Regions from separate parts of the Homo sapiens genome. Here all the other regions are linked to region 5. Evidence: promoter capture Hi-C in human tissues and cell types (Jung and others, 2019). All regions are on one chromosome and are shown on one strand. The core of a region is centred on a gene start or on the middle of the fragment in contact, and the rest is flanking DNA. Distances in the headings are between cores, read along the strand shown. Region 1 overlaps SEPTIN2 (septin 2). Region 2 overlaps FARP2 (FERM, ARH/RhoGEF and pleckstrin domain protein 2). Region 3 overlaps HDLBP (high density lipoprotein binding protein). Region 4 overlaps SEPTIN2 (septin 2). Region 5 holds the start of BOK (BCL2 family apoptosis regulator BOK).

What was found. Contacts are between HindIII fragments. The study calls those that stand out against the background at their distance.
Region 1: a fragment that was not itself captured here is called in contact with the fragment with the promoter of BOK in region 5 in 2 of the 25 tissues and cell types used here (dorsolateral prefrontal cortex and hippocampus).
Region 2: a fragment that was not itself captured here is called in contact with the fragment with the promoter of BOK in region 5 in 3 of the 25 tissues and cell types used here (dorsolateral prefrontal cortex, hippocampus and lymphoblastoid cells).
Region 3: a fragment that was not itself captured here is called in contact with the fragment with the promoter of BOK in region 5 in 2 of the 25 tissues and cell types used here (dorsolateral prefrontal cortex and lymphoblastoid cells).
Region 4: a fragment that was not itself captured here is called in contact with the fragment with the promoter of BOK in region 5 in 1 of the 25 tissues and cell types used here (dorsolateral prefrontal cortex).

What each region holds. Positions count from the first base shown.
Region 1 is chr2:241,339,615-241,344,204 of GRCh38, reverse strand. It overlaps SEPTIN2 (septin 2), which reads right to left. Exons shown (of 13, transcript NM_004404.5): 8 at 1,112-1,213; 9 at 308-453. Among named protein-coding and RNA genes, the nearest start is that of FARP2, 14 kb to the left of the region's middle. The HindIII fragment of the contact is 6,582 bases long and covers 1-4,590 here.
Region 2 is chr2:241,423,054-241,427,675 of GRCh38, reverse strand. All of the region lies in intron 8 of FARP2 (FERM, ARH/RhoGEF and pleckstrin domain protein 2), which reads right to left. Among named protein-coding and RNA genes, the nearest start is that of MIR3133, 53 kb to the left of the region's middle. The HindIII fragment of the contact is 3,912 bases long and covers 225-4,136 here.
Region 3 is chr2:241,307,477-241,311,764 of GRCh38, reverse strand. The region is part of intron 1 of HDLBP (high density lipoprotein binding protein); the gene reads left to right. Among named protein-coding and RNA genes, the nearest start is that of HDLBP, 6.1 kb to the left of the region's middle. RefSeq lists enhancers at 235-284, 1,860-2,361. The HindIII fragment of the contact is 9,441 bases long and covers 1-4,288 here.
Region 4 is chr2:241,323,257-241,327,618 of GRCh38, reverse strand. It overlaps SEPTIN2 (septin 2), which reads right to left. Exons shown (of 13, transcript NM_004404.5): 2 at 3,378-3,403; 3 at 1,506-1,626. The coding sequence starts at 3,386. Among named protein-coding and RNA genes, the nearest start is that of SEPTIN2, 9.5 kb to the right of the region's middle. The HindIII fragment of the contact is 3,359 bases long and covers 1,010-4,362 here.
Region 5 is chr2:241,556,018-241,560,497 of GRCh38, reverse strand. It overlaps BOK (BCL2 family apoptosis regulator BOK), which reads right to left and starts at 1,753. Exons shown (of 5, transcript NM_032515.5): 1 at 1,505-1,753; 2 at 795-1,043. The coding sequence starts at 1,014. It overlaps BOK-AS1 (BOK antisense RNA 1), which reads left to right and starts at 1,355. Exons shown (of 2, transcript NR_033346.1): 1 at 1,355-1,721. RefSeq lists silencers at 731-860, 911-980, 1,011-1,090. The HindIII fragment of the contact is 1,356 bases long and covers 1,369-2,724 here.

The sequences.
Region 1 (4,590 bases), core at 664-3,163, 220 kb after region 5:
GTTTAGGTTCTAGTCTCCTTTTCTCCTTTTAACATCAAAGATGTAAGATCTTAGCAAGAAGGAAAGGTACTGCAGGCTACAGGCCACAGGCAGAAGCGCTAGTTTAGTAGTGCCACAGAGGGCCCCTGGGTGAGGGTTCTCAGCACCAATCTGCAACAGCCCCACACCACTTCTGCGATGTGAGAAACACTGAGGGCGGCAATGAAGCTGCTGGCTGCAACTATCTTGGGGGCCAAGTGTACACCCCGTCTGAAATCCATATTCTTCACGCCAAATTCTGCCAGAAGGAACACACCAAATGTCTTACATGAGCATGGTTCTCAGCTTCAGAAAGTCATTGTGCTCTGGGTTCTCCACTTCCACAACACCCCAGGGGTAGAGGCGGCCTCTGACCTTCTTTCCTTTGGCTTCAATCAACTGATTGGATCCAACCACAGAGAATGGGATGCTAGCCTAGAAAGAGACACACAGAGTAGACAGGCTCCACACAGGGAACCCCAGAGTTCACTGGCAACACGAGAACATTAGCACAGACTTAACACATTGCTGTTGACTACAAAACTGAATTGGAAAGCTGGGGGTATGTAACATTTTCTTGAAAAGTGTCAGATACTTTCTACATGGGACAAATTGTACGAAAACAAATTAAACCTACAATAAAATTTCTAAGCTTTAGGTGATAGCTGTATCAAATTTTTTTTTTTTTTGAGACAGAGTCTTGCTCTGTCGCCAGGCTAGAGTGCAGAGGCGCGATCTCGGCTCACTGCAACCTCTGCCTCCTGGGTTCAAGTGATTCTCCTGCCTTAGCCTCCCGAGTGGCTGGGACTACAGGTGTGCACCACCACATCCACCTAATTTTTGTATTTTTGATGGAGATGAGATTTCACCATGTTGGCCAGGATGGTCTGGAACTCCTGGCCTCAACTGATCCATCTGCCTTGGCCTCTCAAAGTGCTGGGATTATAGGCATGAGCCACTGCATGAGGTCTTAAAATATATTGAAAGCAAAAATACTCTCGTAACTGAACATACCCAGGCAATCTCTCTCACCTCAACATGGACAACAGTAAACAGGAGTTATTTATGTTGTGGATCTGAAGCCAGTTCTTACCTTGAGAAGTCTAGTCTGCTCTTTAAAATCTTCATCTTCATCTGATTCTGCATCAGGTAAGTGATAGATTTTGATGTTATGTTCTTCAATTTCATCCAGAATCTGAGAGAATGACAAAACCAGGATCAATTTTAGCAAACTGCGTATGTTATTGTAGCCAATTCTAGCTCATCTTGTAAGAAATATATTGGAAATCATACAAATGTCAATAATCAAACTGATGACGAAAGTTACTGTCAAATAAATTTATAAAACTGCGGCCGGGTGTGGTGGCTCACGTCTGTAATCCCAGCACTTTGGGACGCCGAGGCAGGTGGATCACAAGGTCAGGAGATGGAGACCATCCTGGCTAACATGGTGAAACCCTGTCTCTACTAAAAATACAAAAAAATTAGCTAAGCGTGGCAGTGGACGCCTGTAGTCCCAGCTGCTGGGGAGGCTGAGGCAGGAGAATGGCGTGAACCCGGGAGGCGGAGCTTGCAGTGAGCTGAGACCACTGCACTTCAGCCTGGGTGACGGAGCAAGACTCCGTCTCAAAAAAAAAAAAAAAAAAAAAAAATTTACAAAACTGCTAGAAAGGTATTTATACTTGAATTTTGAGGATCCTCTGTACAGAATAAAAATAACATTAGCAATAATGCACCACTACCCTCAATGTACAAAGCAGCAGGAAGACTAACGATAGCCCCAGCACAACAGCTAAAATGGAAATCACACCACAATCAGCCTCAAGAAGGGTAATTGCCACAGAGAAGCTACAGGCATGAGAAGACCCTGGAGAACAGGCAGGAGTCTTAAAAGCAGAGAGAAGGGAGAAGTACCCCAGATGGAAAAAAAGGAAGAAAGAAAGAAAAAAAAACAAAACCTCGTCAAAGGCACAGAGAGGACACATGGGGTGCATTTTGAGAATAAGAAATTCAAAAGGTTGGAATCTAAGACATCCAGTTGGATAAGGAAACAAAAATTGGAATTACAAAGTGGAGAGTTCCATCAACACCAGGCTAGCGACCTGGGGATCTGTATTTCATTCAACAGGCAGCCAGCAGTCAGCAGTGAAATCCCACAATCGGACCTATCAAGCAGGCAGTAGTGTGGGGGATGGGGCTTGAGGGGAGAAAGAACTGGGCTGAAGTTGAAATACGAATGCATTCATCAGTCAATCAATTAAAACCCTAGCACTCAAATGCTCATTGCATGGTGGGCATTCTCACAGGCACCAGGCAGGCCACAGTTTTGTTTGGTCTCACCTCAGTACCTGAGCCATTCAGGGAAGAGAGAACAAGAGCAACGTGAGCAGAAAATATCCCGACCTCAAACTGTGCACTGGATTTGCTTTCTGGTTTTTAAGAATGGAAAGCCTTAATGTGACCTAAAAAGGGCCTTGAATGGTCAGAGATTTGGTCTTAGTACAATGTCTGCACTAATTCAGAACTCCAGAAAAGGCCCTCCTCTCTACATCCTTTACTCTGTAACTCGACCTTCAGTCTTTTCATAAATCCTTATTCCTAAATGGGAGGAACCATCTTATCTCTGGGAGAAACTGAGCAATAAGAAGCATGAACTTGCTCACCTGTCCTCATCTTACGGCCCCTTTCCTGGTCTACTATCCATCCATGCTAACCTCATCTTTTGTCCTATGCTGGCCTCATAAAGATGGAGCTTACACTTTGGAGGAGAGAAGAGTTCGGAAACAGTTAGTAAGCTATTTAAAAGTGAGCAGAGGAGTCAGAAGTGATGAGTAAAAAATAATTTACACATTTCTCAGTCTGGATGATTTCAAGAATTGTGGGACCATTTAAAGAGACAGGGGAGCTGGAAGGACAGGAGTCCATCAGTGGTCAAAAGAGGACTCCTGTGGGTAAATGTGGTTCACAACAAGAAATAAGATACCTGGAAGGGCAAATCAGAAGCCACAGAAATAATGTGATCAAAATAATACTAAGGAATACTGACCTTCAGGGATCAGGAAGGAAGGTGGTAAAAAACAGCAGATAGAAAAGCAAACACAGTGGTTCAGCAGCCAAGGAAGGGAAGTTTCAGAAGTAGAATTGCCAATCACACAAACCCCACAGGTGGGGCCCACATCTGAGAACTGAACTGTTGGCCAAGCCCATGAGAGAGCAATTGCAGGTGGATGACAGGAAGCCTGAGTGAACAGGATCATGGGGAGGGCAGATAACAGCTACCAGTAAGTGTCTGACTAGAAGAAAGGCTGGTGAAGGCAAGAAGCTAGTAGAGGCTGGCAGGAGGCAAGAGGTTCTTGTAGATAGGGCAGAATGAACAAACTGGTAGGCATCAAGGAGAAACTGGAGGAAGAGAAGTGATTAATGAGGCCCAAGAAGGAAGGGATAAAAGCTCGAAGTATTTCGATTCATCTCAGATGTTGTAATCCAGCACTAAATGTTTCGCATACAGGATTAGAGATTAGAATTACAGCATTCTAACCCTGACACCACCCCCATTTCTACCTCAAAGAAATTTAATATAGCAGAGTACAAAAGGTGAAGTTCCCTTAAGTAGGAATTACTAAAGTATTTATTAGCATAAAAACGTCTACGCTTCCAGGGGTTCTTCAAAGGTTCAAATACTTTCTAAAAAACTGGCAGGCACTTGAGACAATTTAGGAAAAGGCTGCCAAACATGACTACATGCTGCTTAAAAATTGCTTTGGAAAAAAGCACCAAGAAAAATGTGAAAAAATGAAAGTCAAACCAGGTGAAATCATCTGCAACGTGATAGTCAACATCTAAAAATAAGTATATGTGTTAAGTCAATAAAAAAGCAAGAGCCAAGTCCCTGCAACCTGAGAGAATACACCAACCGGCATCAACACCAGCACAGATACTCACATCGGCAATCAAGGAAAGGCAAATTCAAATGAGATACAATTTCTCAGACAGGAAACACATTACAAAAACTGGCAACATAACCAGGACAGTTTTAGGGGGTGGAGAGAAGAGTACACTTTGGAAATGTAAATTGTTACAAACTTACTTTAGAGCAAATTTAGTCATCCTTCAAAAATTTAAATGTATACTTATTTCCTAAGAATTCGTTTGGCTCACACAATTGTGAAAAGATAGATGTACACCAGTGTTCATTACAACAATTATGCAACAAATCTATTATGTGCCAGACATTATTCGGAACTCTGGGAATACATAAGTGAACAAAGCAGATTCCTGATCTCAGGACCTGGGGTCAGGGGTCAGGAGAAGCCAAAAAACACGCTAGAGAAATACTTTATGCAGTGTGGGGGGAGTGCTACCAGCAGAGCAGGGGATGGAGATGTGAAATCTTGTGTGCAGCGTTGGGCTCAGTGAGGGAGTTCCCCACACAGGTATCTGAGGGAAGACTGTTCCAGGCAGAGGGTATCACTAGCAAAAGCAGCGAGCAAGGGGCAAAGAAACAGTAAATTTGGTCAAAGAAGAAAAGGGGCCAGAGTAAAACAAAAAGTAAGCCAAATATTCATCAGCAGG
Region 2 (4,622 bases), core at 931-3,430, 130 kb after region 5:
TTGTTCAATCCCTTCTGGTCAAAATAAGAAATTTCTACAGCTGTCTCTTGGTATCTGTAGGGGATTGGTTCCAGGACCCTCTACCCCAGTACCCCAATCTATAAATCTTGAGGCTCTGATAGAAAATGGTGTAGTATTTGCATATAACCTACACACACCATCTCTACAAAAAAACCTACAATTTTTGTAGAGATGAGGTCTTGCTTTGCTGCTAAGGCTGGTCTCCCGAGCTCTGGTGATTCTCTTGCCTTGACCTTCCAAAGTGCTGGGATTACAGGCTTGAGCTACCACGCTGGGCTTCCTGTATACTTTAATAAAATCATTTCTAGATTACTTATGTACCTAATACAATGTAAACGTCACATAGTTTTACTGTACTGTGTTAAATTTGTATTTTTTAAAAAATTACACAGACACATATATGTGTGTGTGTGTGTTTTGAGACAGAGTTTCGCTCTTGTTGCCCAGGCTGGAGTGCAATGGTGCGATCTTGGCTCACTGTAACCTCGGCCTCCTGGATTCAAGCGATTCTCCTACCTCAGCCTCCTGAGTAGCTGGCATTACAGGCACCTGCCACCACACCTGGCTAATTTTTGTATTTTTAGTAGAGATGGGGTTTCACCATGTTGGCCAGGCTGGTCTCGAACTTGTGACCTCAGGTGATCTACCAGCCTTGGCCTCCCAAAGTTCTGGGATTACAGGTGTGAGCCACCGCGCCCAGCCTGTATTGTTTTTTATCGTTTATTTTCCTGCGGATATGGAGGGCCAACTGTATATCCCAGGGTCTTGACCACCATGATAAAAGGAGAAATAAATAGAAAATCCAAGGACAATCACAGCTTTCATCTACTGCACCCTGACTTGACAGACTTTAAGACAACACTTTTAAACCTGCACAGTTAGCTGTGGAATGCTAAAATCTACTGTTTTCATTTTCATATTCATCCAATAATCCAGGGCATATCTGAAAATGCCATATAGACTACACGACTGGAAACAAACTGCCAGGTCAGGGTCACCCACTCCACATCAAGTCCTCTTCCTCAGACAGAACCAGCTTCACCTCTCTTGGCTGCCTTTCTGGGATTTACTCTCATGCATCCATTCATTCACCCGTATTTCTGAAAAGCACATTTATGACAGCTAGCACATTCTCCACTTTGAAATCTTGCCTCCTCAACATCTGTCACTGCCAATACCTCACACCTACCCCTCCCCACACTCTCCTAATTGTTGGTAAATTTTAAATTCAGTATTTATATTAATGGTCATGTAAGCATTGCTCACAAGCTGAGCTATAGTGAATTTAACTACTTTTTTTATATTATAAAGTAAAGCTTCCTTCTTCAAAATTTCCTTGAGAATCCTAATTGCCTCGTTTCATTTGCTTCACCGGCATGTACCTATCCCTAGTTAACACTCTTCCACACCGTCCAGCAAAAGAAATGAGTCCCTGGTCTACCCTCTCTCCCGGGGCCCTGCCCTCTGCTCTGGTATTGGTGGATGCTCTCTTGGCAGGCAGAACCTGTGTCTTCCTCTGCCTGTCTCGGATGTGGAGCACCCTATTTCCTTCTTTCTCACTTTTAGTTCATTCTCTCCTCTAGTTTTTCCTTACAAAGGGAGAGTAGTAGTTAAATTTTTTAAAAATCTACATGTGTGAAAAAAGGTTTTCTCTGTACAGAAGTCATGTGGAACAGAGCACAGAATTCTAGTCTAGAGCCCCACACACACCAAATTTAAAAAAAAAATCGCCAAATGCTCGGGGAAACTGATTTGAGTAATAATAAAACTGTAGTCTCAAAAAAAAAAAAACAAAAGAATTAGTTTGGAAATAATTTCCTTTTAATGTTTGAGATGCTGCCATTGCAGTGACATTGCACTCCAGCCTGGGCAACAAGAATGAAACTCTGTCTCAAAAAAAAAAAAAAAAAAAAGAGAGAGAGAGAAATTGTACCAGCTCTTCTTTGTACCTCTGGTTGAATTCAGCTGTGAATCCATCTGGTCCTGGGCTACTTTTTTTTTTTTTTTTTTTTTTTTTTTTACTTGGTAGGATATTATTGCCTCAATTTCACAACACATTTCTAGTCTATTCAGGGATTCAATTTCCCCCTGGCTCGGAAAGCCCCGTTGCTTTCTAGCTTCCAGTACTGCTACGGAATAGTTCCAGGCCATTTTAAATCACACTTCTTTCTCTCTTCTTCCTGGGAGTTCTTGGGTCTTCTCCACTATTATCCTTTGTTGGATGGATAGACTGCAAAATTTTTCTCCCATTCTGTAGGGTTGTCTGTTCACTCTGATGATAGTTTCTTTTGCTGTGCATAAGCTTTTCAGTTTAATTAAATCTCATTTATCAATTTTTGCTTTTGTTGCAATTGCTTTTGGCATTTTCGTCATGAAATCCTTCCTGTGCCTGTGTCCTGAATGGCATTGCCTAGATTTTCTTCCAGGGTTTTTTTTGTTTTTGTTTTTGAGACAGGGTCGCACTTCATCGCCCAGACTGGAGTATAGTGGCTTGATTTTGGCTCACTGCAACCTCCGCCTCCCAGGCTCAAGCGGTTCTCCTTCCTCAGTCTCTCAAGTAGCTGGGGTTATAGGCACCCACTATCATGCCTGGCTAATTATTATATTAGTAGAGACAGGGTTTTACCATGTTGGCCCCAGGCTGGTCTTGAACTCCTGACATCAAGTGATCTGCCCCCATTGGCCTCCGAAAGTGCTGGGATTCAGACGTGAGCCACTGTGTCTAGCCCTCATCTAGGGTTTTTATAAGTTTCTTTCTGGTTCAGTCTTGGGAGAGCGTATGTGTCCAGGAATTTATCAGTTTCTTTTAGATTTTCCACTTTATGTGCATAGAGGTGTTTATAGCATTCTCTGATGATCGTTTATATTTCCGTGGGTTCAGTGGTGATATTCCCCTATCATTTCAGATTGTTCATTTGATTATTCTCTATTATCTTCTTTACTAGTCTAGCTAGCAGTCTATTTTATTAATTTTTTCAAAAAACCAGCTCCTGGATTTGATTTTTTGAAGGGGTTTTTGTGTCTCTATCTCTTCAGTTCAGCTCTGATCTTGGCTATTTCTTGTCTTCTGCTAGCTTTGAGGTTTGTTTGCTCTTGATTTTTTAGTTCTTTTAGTTGAGATGTTAGGTTGTTAACCTGAGATCTTTCTAGCTTTTTGATGTGGGCATTTAGTACTATAAATTTCCCTCTTAACAATGCTTTAGCTGCATCCCAGATTCTGATATGTTATCTCTTAGTTCTCATTAGTTTCAAATAATTCTTGATTTCTACCTTAATTTCATTATTTACCCAAGAGTCATTCAGGAGCAGGTTGTTCAATTTCCATATAGTTGTGTGGTTTTCAGTGAATGTTTAAATCTTGAGTTCTAATTTGATTGTGCTGTGGTGTAAGAGACTGTTTGTTATGATTTCAGTTCTTATGCATTTGCTGAGGAGTGTTTTGCTTCCGATTATGTGATCAGTTTTAGACAAAGTGCCATGTGGTGATGAGAAGAATTTATATTCTTTTGTTTTTGGGGGGACAGTTCTGTAGCTATCTATAAGGTCACTTTATCCAGGGCTGAGTTCAGGTCCTGAATATTTTCAGAAAGTTAACTTTCTGTCTTGATGATCTGTCTAATATTGTCAGTGGGGTGTTAAAGTCTCCTATTATTATTGTGTGGGAGTCTAAGTCGTTTTTTAGATCTTTAAGAACTTGCTTTATGAATCTGGGGGCTCCTGTATTGGGTGCATATATATTTAGGATAATTAGCTCTTCTTGTTGAACCCTTTACCATTATATAATGCCCATCTTTGTCTTTTTTAATCTTTGTTGCTTTAAAGTCTGTTCTGTCAGAAACTAGGATTGCAAGCCTTGTTTTTTTCTGTTTTCCATTTGCTTGGTAAATTTTATTCCATCCCTTCATTTTGAGTCTATGTGTGTCTTTGCACGTGAGACAGGTCTCTTGAAGACAGCATACCCATAGGTCTTGGCTCTTTATCCAGCTTGCCATTCTGTGTCTTTTAATTGGGGGCATTTAGCCCATTTACATTTAAGGTTAATATTGTTATATGTGAATTTCATCCTGTCATCATGGTCCTAGCTGGTTATTTTGCAGACTTGTTTTTGTGGTTGCTTTATAGTGTCACTGGTCTATGTATTTCAGTGTGTTTTTGCAGTGGCTGTTAACAGTTTTTCCTTTCTGTATTTAGTGCTTCCTTCAGGAGCTCTTGCAAAGCAGGCCTGGTGGTGATGAATTCCCTAAGCACTTGCTTGTCTGAAAAGAATCTTATTTCTGTTTTGCTTATGAAGTTTAGTTTGGCCAGATATGAAATTCTGGGTTGGAAATTTTTTCCTAAGAATGTTGAATATTGGCCCCCAATCTCTTCTGGCTTGTAGGGTTTCTGCTGAGAGGTCCCCTGTTAGTCTGAAGGGATTCCCTTTGTAGATGACCTGGCCTTTCTCTCTGGCTGCCTTTAATATTTTTTCTTTTATTTCAACCTTGGAGAATCTGATGATTATATGTCTTGGGGCAGATCTTCTTGTGGAGTATCTTACTGGGGTTCTCTGCATTTCCTGAATTTGAATATTAGCCTGTCTCGTTAGGTTGGGGAAATTCTCC
Region 3 (4,288 bases), core at 1,737-4,236, 250 kb after region 5:
CGAAGTGGTATAATAGGATTGTTTTCACTTTTCTGGATAACTTTTTGTTTTCCTGGGTTATTACAAGTCTTATTTGTTTTTGTTTGCTTGCTGCTTGCTCAGTTTTCTATATTTTGTCACTACAATTCAACCCCAAATTCTGAAGCAATTATCTAAATCTTTCAAGAAATTGTCCGTTTTCTTTTGAAGAAAATTAGTATTCCTATCATTTTATCTTGAATAAATCTCTCCCAGCGCCTCCAATCTGCTGCAGGCTTGTCTGTGCCTGAAATCTTCCTGTAACTCTCCTCACTCCCTCTTGTGTTGGAGCCTCACTTTTCTGGAACCTATGTCATTCTCTTGATTTGACTGTCTCACTTCGATGGAGCACATCCTTCACTAGTTGCCTGAGAAGTGCATGGCAGATGAAGTTTTCAGAATTTGTATGTACGAAAGTGCCTCGTTCTGCTCTTATCCTGAGTAGGAATTTGGACATCATTTTGCTCCGCGGTCTCTAAGTTTCCAGTGTTGTTGAAGTCTTAAGCCGTTCTGATTCTCTTTTATTGATACGTAACATTTTTAGAGCCTTTGTGTGTGACTATGTTTTCCTCCATGAAACCTGAAGGTTTTTGTTTCTTTTTTTTCTTCTTTCTTTCTTTTGTTTTTTTTTGAGACACAGCGTCTTGCTCTGTTGCTCAGGCTGTAGTGCGGTGGCGCTGTCATAGCTCACTGCAGCTGCAATCTCCTGGGCTTGAGTGATGCTCCTGCCTCGGCCTCCCAAGTACCTGGGACTACAGGCATGCACCGCCACACCTGGATAATTTTAAAAACTTTTTGTAGACATGAGCTCTCTATGTTGCCCAGGCTGATCTTGAACTCCTGGCCTCAAGTGATTCTCCTGCCTCAGACTCCCGAAGTGCTGGGAGTGAAGGCTTTGCATCTGGCCTCAGAGGCTTTTCTTTCTGTGAAATTCAGAACTCCCAGAACAGTGATGTCCCTTGGAGACTGTTTTCATCCATCGTCTTGCCTACTCTTTGGTCCTGTTTATTTGCAACTCATGTTCTTCAACGCTGGGCATTTTTTTGATTTATTGCTTTGATTTCTTCCTATTTGCTTTCTCTCTCTCTCTCTAGAATTCTACTCTTGGACTTTCTGGATTGGCACTCATAATTTTCTTAAGGTTTCTTTTTCCCCCCTCTAAAATTTTTGTTTTTGTTTTTATCTTTTAAATTGTAAATTGACAAATTATACTTGTACATATTTAGGGGGTACAAAGTGATGTTACGATTTATGGATACAATAAATAATAAAATCAAGTTAACATAATTCATCACTTCAAATACTTTAAGTTTTTTGTGGTGAAAGCATATGAGATTACTGTCAGCACTTTTGAAATCGACATTATTATTTACTATATTCACCGTGCTGTACAATATATCTCATAAAAGAAAACCACATTCCTCCTGTCTAATTGATGTTTTGTACCCTTTGGTTTTTCATTTTCTTTCTGGAAGTTATTCTCAAGTTTGTCTTCCAGCCCTTCTACCAAGGTTTTTCTCATTTCTAAGAGCTTTTTCTTGTTCCCTCTATTCCTATTTTATAACCTATTTTTTGTTTCATGAATGTGGTATCTCCTGTTAACTGTTGGAAGATATTGATGAGGTTTTATTTTTCCCTGTTTTCTTTTTCCTTAAGTCACTATTGAGGCTGCTCTGGTTTGTTGTGGGTTTTTGGCTTTTGTCAGCCTTTTCTGGGCTATGCAGTGATGTTCTTGTGCCTGCTCGTGAGTCAGAGGGCCTCTGAGCCTGTGTCTGTGGCTGACTGTGGCTTTCACTGCAGAGGCACCTGGCTGGGCCATTTCCTTACAGCACCCTTGTCAGCTTCTTTGGGTTTCTTCAGATTCCCCAGAGAAATATCTTGTAGCCCTTTGCCTGGCTGAGTGGCCAAGTGAGGAGAGAGGCCTGGGAGCACAGCAGTAACCATAAAAGAGCTTACTTCCCTCTTTTCAGAATTGTTTCCCTCCTCTGTAACTGGTGTCCCCAGTCCAAAGATTCTACTTCCCTTTGCAGACAGAAAAGCGATACCTTTTTGCCAGGATAGGAGAGGGACTGTGCAGGTTGGCTCTGTGTGGCTGTGCAGAGTTGTGGGGTGCATCTTAGGGATCTTCGTGCCTTTTAAACCTATCAGCCAACTCTGTTTTTAATTCAGGTCTCCTGGCTTCCAGTCATATTGCCAGTTGGCCTTCCCCATTGCCGATACAGGATTCAGCCCTTTTAGGTCTGTTTCCAGTTTCTAGCCTCCAGTATTTTAATGTTCTTATCTCTATTCTTATTCTTTGCTTTCGTGATTTGTATCTTAAAAAAAGAAAAAATCGTTTACTATCATTTTAGTGGTGCTTCACGAAGTAGTGTAAATGTATTGATCTGACAACGGCTCGTGCTGGAGACACTGTTCCAGGAAGTGGGACACAGTAAGGAAAATGCAAGTGTGTTCTCCTGCACTTTCACGGAGGTCACGTTTTGGTAAGCGGTGTCAGGCAGTCAGCAGACCAGCAGATATGCAGTATGTCCAATGTGGACAAGAAGAAAGGAGGAAAATAAAGTATCGAGGGGAGTGGAGTGGGGGACACAGTGGCAGTTTGGCATAGTGGGGAGGCCTTGCTGATTGAGCGACAGTTGATTCAAACTTGAGATGAGCAAACAAGCCATGGGCAGCGATCTGGGGAAGAGCGTTATAAGAGGAATGGACAGGAGGTGAAAAGCACGGGGGCAGGACTGTGTTGTGCACGTTAGAGGAATGTGGAACACCAGTTATTAGACCAGTGTGGAGCAGGACCAGAGGGTGTAGGAGACGGGCAGGTCAGGGAAGAAGCCGGGGCTCCTAGCAGTCGGATCTTGATGCCTTTGGAGAGCTGGAGCAGAGTGACCCAGTACTGGTGGTGGATCGTGGTGAAGTGACCATGGGCCACACCATTCACGACATTTCTTACTTTTCCTGTCACCTGTAGGAGGCAAGTATTGTTGTTATCACAGGTCGAGGTAGACCCTGAGGCAAAGGCTAGAGTTAGTGGTTTGGCTCCAGTTTGTGCCTTCAGCTACTTCACTGCTTCCCTAACCTGGCCTTGTCAGTCAGCCTCAGTCTACCATCTACCCAGGTCTGCATACCCCGCAAAACAGTATACACTTTGACGCTTTTCTGCAAGCACAATTACCTTTTGGGGGAGCCCTTCTCTTAAAGCAGAGTAGGTTAATGTTTGTGAATGAAACGGAACTTTGGCAGGCTGAGGTGTCTCAGGTCATCAGCTTACGTTGTCTACTGTGTGACTAATTGAGGCAAAAGATGTCCTTTTTAATAGTATTTTCTCATCACTTTTGCCTGGGTGCCCTTTAGGAATGTTATTTTTGGCATACAACTTGAGTTTCACTTAAATTTATAATTCTTTCTGTTCATTCCTACTGCTCTGTTGCCCAGATGTGGATTTTGCTTTGTCTCACAAGCGTTGCTGAAACACTGGTAGAAAGGTGGACGACGGATTGGTTGTGATTAGTTTGATCTTCACAGTACAGAAATTCAAAAGGTCAATAAGCTCAACAAGATTGCTGTCTCACTGATGATCAGAGTTGCCATTAAAATCGTATTTCCCGCACATCAGGCTGGAAAAAAGAATAAACATGATCATTTTAGTTGTCCTCAAAGGAGAAGAGGACAGGTATTCTGTAATCAGGTGTTGTGAGTGTAACTAGTTAAACTCTTTGGGAGGTGGGCAGTTTTACCTTGGCAATATCTATCAATGCATTGCCTGTCATCATATAATTCCATTTCCAATTCAATTTATCCTGTGGGGGTAGAGGCCCAAGTGAGCAGAGGATGTTCTTTCCAGCATTGTTTATAATCGCAAAAAAAAAAAAAAATTAGTTCAAGGGTCCTATCAGTAGGGGATTTATTAAGGTATGTTTACTCCACTCAACATGTAGTTGTTAACAAATGAGGTAAATTTGTATTTGGTACTCGGAAAGATGGCCATGGTGTCTTTTCAAATGAAAATAAGTGTAGCAGATGGTGAAAGAATGCATGTAAGATCCTATTTTTATTTAAATCATGTATTAAAATTATAATTAAAGTATAATTAAAATTACAGTTTTGAAGATACAGTTTAGAATATATTTTTTGGTAAAGCCTCATGGGGGGGTTGCCAGTTTTTACATTGTTTTGTTGAGTTATCTTTTAGAATATTTTTAAAGCTAAAAAATCAAGTTCCTTGGTAGACCATCACTACAGCAAGCCCACTGCAGTATTAATCTATTAATAC
Region 4 (4,362 bases), core at 1,440-3,939, 230 kb after region 5:
TTTATATTTATTTTGCCTGGTATTTGTCAAGCTTCTTGGATCTGTGCATTTACAACTTTGCTGAAAATTGCACAATTCCCAGGCATTATTTTTTCATGTTTTTTTTTTTTGCTTTCCTGTCTTCTCTGTGAATATAATCCATATATTAGACTGTTCACAATGTACCAAAGGACACTGAGGGCACATTCAATTTCTTTTTTTTTTCCAGCTTTTCCCTTACTGTGCTTCTACTGTGCTTTTTCTCCTGCAGTGTATAATGTGCTGTCAGGCTTATCATGAAAATTTCTTATTTCGGTTGTATCTTAATCTTTAGAAGTTCCACTTGGTTTTCTGTTGTATCTTTCCTTTATCTTATTATATTCATGCTTTCCTTTAAGTAATAGAGTTCTTCTTTGCCATCGAGATCCATTTCTATCATTTCTGGATCTGTTTCTATTGCCTGCTTTTTCTCCTGATTATGTACAGTTTTTGTTTCTTTGATGCCACACAATTTTCTATTAGACATTAGACATTGTGAATGTTACACTGTAAATGCCTGGATTTTTTTTTTTTTTTTTTTTTTTTTTTTGAGACAAGGTTTCATTCACCCAGGCTTGAGGCTTGAGTGCAGTGGCATGATCTCAGCTTACTGCAGCCTCAACCTCCTGGACTCAGGTGAGAGGAACTACAGGTACATGCCACCATGCCTGGCTAGTTTTCATATTTTCTGTAGAGACAGGGTTTCACCATGTTGCCCAGCCTGATCTTCAACTCCTGCCTGCCTCGGCCTCCCAAAGTGCTAAGATTACAGGTGTGAGCCGCCATGCCTGGCCTGGAGGATATTTCTGAAACGGGTCACTTACACAGCCATTGGCAGGCCTTGGTTCCTTACTTGGTGGGCTTCCCTGTAAGGCTGCTTGAGTGTTCTCTTGACATGACAGCTGGCTTCCTCCAGAGTGAGTAATTTGAGAAGAGGCAAGGTGGGGGGCCATAATGCCTTTTATGACCTAGTCTTAGAAAATGACAACACTTTCATCTCCACAATGTCCTACTGGCTACACAGGTAAAACCCTATTCAATGCAGGAAGGGCTGGCTTCCTCCAGAGTGAGTAATTTGAGAAGAGGCAAGGTGGGGGGCCATAATGCCTTTTATGACCTAGTCTTAGAAAATGACAACACTTTCATCTCCACAATGTCCTACTGGCTACACAGGTAAAACCCTATTCAATGCAGGAAGGGACAAGAAAGTTGTGAATACCAGGAGATAAGAATCACTGGGGGCCATTTTGGAGCCTAGCTGACACAATGAGTAAACTTTCACTACATATAAATAAGAAAGTGACAGAAAAATAATTTTGCTCCTGAGAAAAATTTTCTAATGAATACACATATATTTGTTCAAATTCTCAAGTTATTTGACTCTGCCAAATTTTCCTCTTTCTTTATAGGTCACGTTATCATACTCCAGAGATTGGAAAGGGGAGATATTTATTTAGTAAGTTGGAGACTATAGATTAATTTCTTACCGACCACCATCAGTGTGAACTCAAAACCTTTTTTCACTGATTTTCGGTGAACTTGATTGGGGAGGTTTGCAAATCCAACATAGCCAGGTGTTTCTGGATTTATAAACTGAGTTGGCTGTTGCTAAATAAGATTAAAAAACAAACAAACTAATAAACACCTTAGTAGTTGCTTTTAAGATATAATCAGTTAGACATGAAACAAACATAGGTTATCAGTTTTCACAAATTTTTTAAAAAGTATAAACACTTCCAGAAGGTCATACTTCTATCAGAAAACCAGTAGTATTCAACTAGGAGCATTAAAAAAAGAAAAACTTATCTAGTATAACTCCTTAGTTGTATGCGACTGAAAATTAACATTTTGTTAATCAGTATTCTGTTTAGGAATTTAACAATACATAGAAGATACATGCTTAATACATCTTAATGCAATTTCAAATTTCGACTTGAGAGACTATGGAGTTCCAGGAAAATCAGTCAAGCTTACAAAGTACTGCTACAGCTGACAGTACTTTGAATGAATGGTTTCATTCAACAAACTTGGCTAAAGAATAGCTTCTCCCAGGTATTAGGTGCAATGCATTTCTGAAAAGTATCGAGGAAAAAAGCATCTCTCTTGCTGTGCTTCTAGCTCTATAGAACAGAGTTTCATCAAGGGTGAGGCAGGCAAATTAGGGGTGGGATGTTGAGTATCTAGTGTCAAAGACCAAGAAAGAAAAGACAGAATGAGAAGATCATAGATGACTACACTGAAGCATCAATATTCCTTGACAGAAGGGTATCTGATGAGAGAGAGGACAGAGATATGAGAAGGCAAGAATAGCAGAAGTAACCAGAATCTAGACAGTGGCATACTGAAAATGAGAAGAAATTTTAAAAATCAATTTATTAATTGAAAAAGGCAAGATACAAAATAGTATTTCCTTTAGGATTACATTTTGTAAATGTATAGTCAAATGCACACACAGGTGAAAAAGAATATATGTAACATATTAACAGTGGTTATTCCTGAGTGGTGAAATAATGACTTTTTTTTTTGCTTATCTGTGTTCCATGCTAACACTGGTATAAAATGCAAAAACTGGTATGATGATTTTGCATTGGACAGTAATGAACACCCACAGGATTCAAAGATAAAAAAAAAACAGAAATAATAATCTTGCAATGTTAACCACAAGTTCTGCTTTTCTCAGAATATGTTCTTTAGCACTAATTTATCTCTGAACTAACTTGCAAAGGCTGATTTAAACCAATTTATCAAGTCTAAGAGCCCCATCAATTTCATCATAATAAATTATCAGAATTCTAAATTATCTGGTCTGCTGGGAATGAACTAAGGGGGCCAAAAGGACTGTTACTGATGTGTGTAGAGAAAAGAAAGTAGAAGCCTGAAAAAAGAGAAAGCTCCAAGCTTTTAAGATGACAATTAGGCCAGGCACGGTGGCTCACACCTGTAATCCCAACACTTCGGGGGGCCAAAGCGGGTGGATCACGAGGTCAACAGATCAAGGCCATCCTGGCCAACACGGTGAAACCCCGAATTTACTAAAATCCAAAAAATTAGCCAGCGTGGTGGCACGTGTCTGCAGTCCCAGCTACTCCGGAGGCTGAGCCAGGGGAATCGCTTGAACGTGGGAGGCAGAAGTTGCAGTGAGCTGAGATCATGCCACTGCACTCCAGCCTGGTGACAGAACAAGACTCCCGTCTCAAAAAAAAAAAAAAAAAGACAACTAAATTAGAACTCTTTGTGTTAATGAATCAAATGTATCAGTTGTATTAAAAATAATGAATCATATAAGTCCCGACTGTCAACAGTCTGAAAACATAAAGCAATTTCTCCTTATGCTGTAGATACATGAAGTATGATCTTACCTTAGACATCTTTTGTGAAGCTTCGTCTGTTAAAAAAAAAACACACAGACACACATAAACGCACATACATAGTATGTATGTATACGCACGTATATTTAACAGCGTGAACTGACCTGAAGAAGACTTACACATACATAGGCAATGTAAAAAGAAAATACAATTTCAGGACCTTCCAAATGCATTAGGCCAAAGGGAAAAGTTAAGCACTGACAGCTGGCTCGTGTAACATCACTACTTTTATTCTTTCTGACTTTTGTGTTTAGATGTATATATTAACCAGACCCCCTATTCTTTATTCAAAACTAGACTAAATGACTGGGAGATGAGAGATCCTTATGACTGTTACTTCTTTACAAAAGGAAGTTAAACAAATCCCTTCAAGTGTAATCAATAGTAGCCAATCAAATTTGTATCTTTAAATGAGCCTTAGTTCCGAAAATGTTATAATTCTGTTTGGCACCTCCATTTTGCCTATATAAACAATCCTCATTTTTCCCCACCCTGGGAGCGCTAATCACCATTCTTTGGTGTAGCTCGCTTACACTCTGTACTTAAATGAATTCTTTTAACTGAATCAGGAGCCTTTTGATTATTTTAGGTGACAGCATCTCAATTACTTCAAATATTTCCCTAGGAATAAGACAAGCATCTATCATTACAAAAATAAATTCGATTAAAAAAATTAGGCCAGACGTGATGCTCACGCCTGTAATTCCAGCACTTTGGGAGGCCGAGGTAGGCAGACCACTTGAGGTCAGGAGTTCAAGACCAGCCTGGCCAACATGGTGAAACCCCATCTCTACTAAAAATACTGATTCAGCCAGGCATGGTGGCGCTTGAGGTCAGGAGTTCAAGACCAGCCTGGCCAACATGGTGAAACCCCGTCTCTACTAAAAATACTGATTCAGCCAGGCGTGGTGGTGCGTGCCTGTGATCCCAGCTACTCAGAAGGCTGAGACAGGAGAATCGCTTGAACCTGGGAGGC
Region 5 (4,480 bases), core at 504-3,003:
AGGCAGCGTGTCCCCTCACGGGGTCGTGCCCTCCGACTCCAACCCCCTGCCTGGAGAGCCACCGATTCAGTTTCACCTATGCTGTCACCTCCCCTTCCCGGGCTCAGCCACAGGCGCCCCATGTGCCCTCTTCGGGCATCACATAAACATTCCCAGGTGACGGCCACAGCCCAGCTGTGGTGAGGGGACTGGACAGTCACAGTGGGGCTGGTCCCTCCCTCTTGGGTCCAGACCTTGGAGACGGTGGGGGCAGCCAGTGGACCGTGTGTGACCCCAGAACCGAGCACCCCCAGATGTCCTCACAGCACCAACGAATACTGAGGTTTTGGCTACCCAGCCCGGTGGGCGCAGTTTCCAATGGGGGGGCCTCGGAGGCCTCGGAATCCAGAGGGCAGCGGGCGGGATCTCGGCCAGTAACAGCAAGAATCTGTTTTCCAAAATAAACATCGGGACACGTGCTCCTACAAAGGGTTTCTGTGCCCAGCTGAGAACAAGGGTCACTGTGGAAGCTTAGCCACCCACTAATAGATTATTCTTTCTGGAGCTTTCTATTGTTTATGGCCAGCATGACTGAAATCTGGGCTGAGCAGGCAGCTGATGGGGGGGCCTGTGGCGTGGGAGGCCTGAGAGGGCAGATCCGGGAGCACCCGCCTGGGTGGCCCTGTCCCGAGCGCCTGGCCGTCCCAGGCAGGGGGTGGGCGCCCCTGGGCCGGACCCCCATCTCGGCCTCGGAGGGAGGCTGCGGCCCAGCAGGGGAGGAGGCGCAGCTGGGGATCCCACCAGGGCGCACTCACCCAGGCGCAGCAGCACCGCGCACACCTCAGCCAGGCGTCCCGGGACCGGCGCGGCACGCTCGGGCGCGCTCCAGGAGAGGCCGGCGCGCAGCAGCCGCGCGTGCACGTACTCCCGGCCCAGCGCCTTGGCCTGGGCCACCAGCTCCTTGTCTGTGGGCGAGCGGTCAAAGGCGTCCATGATCTCGGCGGCGAAGACCGAGGAGCGCCGCAGCACCTCCATGGCGGCGACGCGGGTGGGGGGCGCCGCACCTGCGGGCACAAGCGCTCAGCCGGGTGGAGGGAGGCGGCGCGGGGAACGGGGCGCGCGGGGCGCCGGGCTGGGCGTGGCCCTCGGGAAGGGCCGTAGCCGGCGCCGGGTCCGCTCTCGTTTTTTGTGCCCCAAATCTTTAAAAACCCAGCGCCACCTTCTTTCAGAGCCCGAATTCAGCTACAGACATTCCCCGAGGCTGCCAGGGACCGGTGGGGCCGCGGGGAGACGGCGGTTTGCTCCGGGGCCGCCGGGCCCGCCCTCGAAGACGAGTGCGTGGGCGGCGGGGGCGGAGGGCACAGCCCAGCGCGTCCCCCACGGCGACTGCCAGGACCCGGCCCTCCCCGCCCCGGCCCGGGGCCGCCCACCTCCGCCGCTGGCGTCCTGCGCGCGTGTCCCCGGCCTCGCCGTTCCCGTGGCACCCCGGGCACCCCGGCACGGACGCCACGCCCGCCGCGCTCACCTCTCCCGCCGCATGGCGCGGGCGCCGGGGTGGAGTTCTGGCTTCAGGATCTGCTCGCCGCCGACGACGACCTCGACCCTTCCATTCAGACCCGCGAGGACGCGCGCCCCGCCCCGGCGCCCGCCCCGTCCACGCCCGAGCCGGGAGCGCCAGGTCCACGGGGCTTCCCGCGCTCTTGGGGGGCTCCTGCCGCGGCGTCGGGGGCCTGGGCAGCGAGGTGGGCAGCGCGCGACTCCCAGCTGGCGAGAGGCTGGGCTTGGGGCTTGGCCTTCTAAGGGAAAGGCAACCCTGGGGGCGGAGTCGGGGAGACGCTTTCCGAGCTTCCCCGCTTAAGGAGGACCGAGCGAGTTCCCTGGATGCGCCCGGAGAAGGCGACCAGGCCGGAGCGGCCCCCGCAAGGCAGAGCAGTGGGGACCTAGAGCCAGCCCCAGCCGCCTGGGTGTTCCCCGGGGTCCATTTGAAAATTGGGTTGTCTTCTTCGTTCGTAGAGGTTCTTTCCAGAGTCTGGAGACGTGTTCTTGGTCCGGACGCATGCCCTTTGTATTGTAGATGGATTATTGGATTCGCATTTATTGAAGTTATTGCAAATATCTTCCTCTATTTTGTGGTTTACTTTTGCTTTGGATGAACAGGAGTTACTCTTAGTGATGTCCAATTTATCAATATTTTCTTTATGGTTAGTACCTTTTTATTGGGATATCCTCCTGTATTTCCTTTTAGAAGCTTGTTTTAGGGCTCATATTTAGATCTATGATTGATTACATATTAATTATTGTGAATGGTGTGGTACGGGGCTAGAGCTCATTTTTTTTCGTGTAGATATCCAATTGACCTGGCATCATTTATTGAAAAGCATCATTTTTTTTCCACCGAATTGGAGGAGTCCCCAACATCTCAACATAAATCAGCTGAAGAGTGTGTGTGTGTGTGTGTGTGTGTCTCGGAACTCTATCCCACTGGTTTATTTCTTTATCCTTGAATCAACCTCACACAGTTTGAACAATAGGATTAACCAACTTGGCCTAATTCACGTGTGTACAACACTATAAAATACTTATTCTTCCCATGTGCACATAGGATGTTTATCGAAATAGACCATATCATGGACCTTATACAAGTCTCAGCAAATCTCAACGGATTGAAATCTTACAGTGTGTCCTCTCTGAATTAAAAGTCAATAACAGAAAAATTACTGGAAAATCTGCAAATGCTTGGAAATTACATGTCACACTTCTAAATAATCAATGGGTCAATAATCACAGTGGAAGATTAAAATATGTTGACAAGAACAGTGAAAAATAAGACATATCAAATGCTGTACAGTGCAACTAAAACACTGCTTAGAGGAAATTTGATAGCTTTAGAAGAAGGATTGAAAATTAGGCCAGGTGAAATGACTCAGACCTGTAATCCCAGCATTTTGGGAGGCCTAGGTGGGCAGATCACCTGAGCTCAGGAGTTTGAGACCAGCCGGGTCAAAATGGTGAAAACCCCGTCTCTACTAGAGATACAAAAAATGAGTTGGGTGTGGTGGCAGGTGTCTGTAATCCCAGCTACTAAGGAGGCTGAGGCAGGAGAATTGCTTGAACCTGGGAGGCGAAGGTTGCAGTGAGCAGAGATCATCCCACCTGCACTCCAGCCTGGACAACAGAGTGTGATTCCATCTCAAAAAAAAAAAAAAAAAAGGAAAAAGAAAAATAAAATTACTGCTCTAAGCTTCCACTCAAGAAGCTAGAAAAGAACAATAAAACTAAAGATGAAAGGAAATAATAAAAATAAGAGCAGAAATTAATGGAATAAAGCAAAAAATAGAGAAAATCAACAAAGCCAAAAATTGGTTCTTTGAAGAGATTAATAGAACTGATAAATCCCCAGAAAGATTGAGTAAGAAAAAAGATAACACAAATTTCACTATCAAGAATGAAAAAGAGGACATCACTGTAGATACTACAAGCATTAAAGGGATAAAAAGATAGTATGGAGGACTTTTTGACAGTGCATTTGAAATTTTAGATGATACACAACTTACCAAAACTGACACTAAAAGAAATAGAAAATCTGGATAGTCCTACACCAATTAAATGCATTGAATCTGTAATTTAAAATCTTCCCACAAAGAAAATTCTAGGTTCAGATGGTTTCATTGAGAAATTCTTCTCAACAGTTAAAAAAATACCACCAGTCTCATACAAACCTGCACAGAGACTAAAAATGAGGGAGTATTTCCCAACTCATTTTATGAGGTCAATGTAATTTTAATACCGAAACCTGTCAGGAACATTACCAGAAGCTAGGAAAGCTATGGAACTTCTATCTGCTATGACTTTCCTGTCTGGGAAGTAGGAAGAATAATAATACCTACCTCCTAGGATTGTTGAGAGGACTGAATTCTTTTTTTTTTTTTTTTTTTTTGAGACGGAGTCTCGCTCTGTTGCCAGGCTGGAGTGCAATGGCGTAAACTCGGCTCACTGCAACCCCGCCTCCTGGGCTCCAGCGATTCTCCTGCCTCAGCCTCCCGAGTAGCTGGGACTACAGGCACCTGACACCACGCCCGGCTAATTGTTTGTATTTTTGGTAGAGAGGGGGTTTCACCATGTTGGCCAGGATGGTCTCGATCTCTTGACCTCGTGATCTACCTGCCTTGGCATCACAAAGTTCTGGGATTATAGGCGTAAGCCACAGCGCCCAGCCTGGGAGGACTGAATTCTTAATCCATGTCATGTAGTAAGTGCTCAGTCATTGTTAGCTGCTTTTTCAGAAAAGCTGTAGTACAGTAAAATCTGAGGGTGCATTTTAATGAACTCTTTAATGTAGAGTCTAGAGCTCCTTGGACAGTGTGCGCCTCAGATTTCTGAAGAGCAGTCAGGTTTGGGATTCCCTGTAGATAGCATTACAGAAATGCAGAGAGGGAAAAGATCTCGCCCAAGGAGTCACTGCAAGACTGGGCATGGCCAGACTGTAAACCTTGGGGTCTAA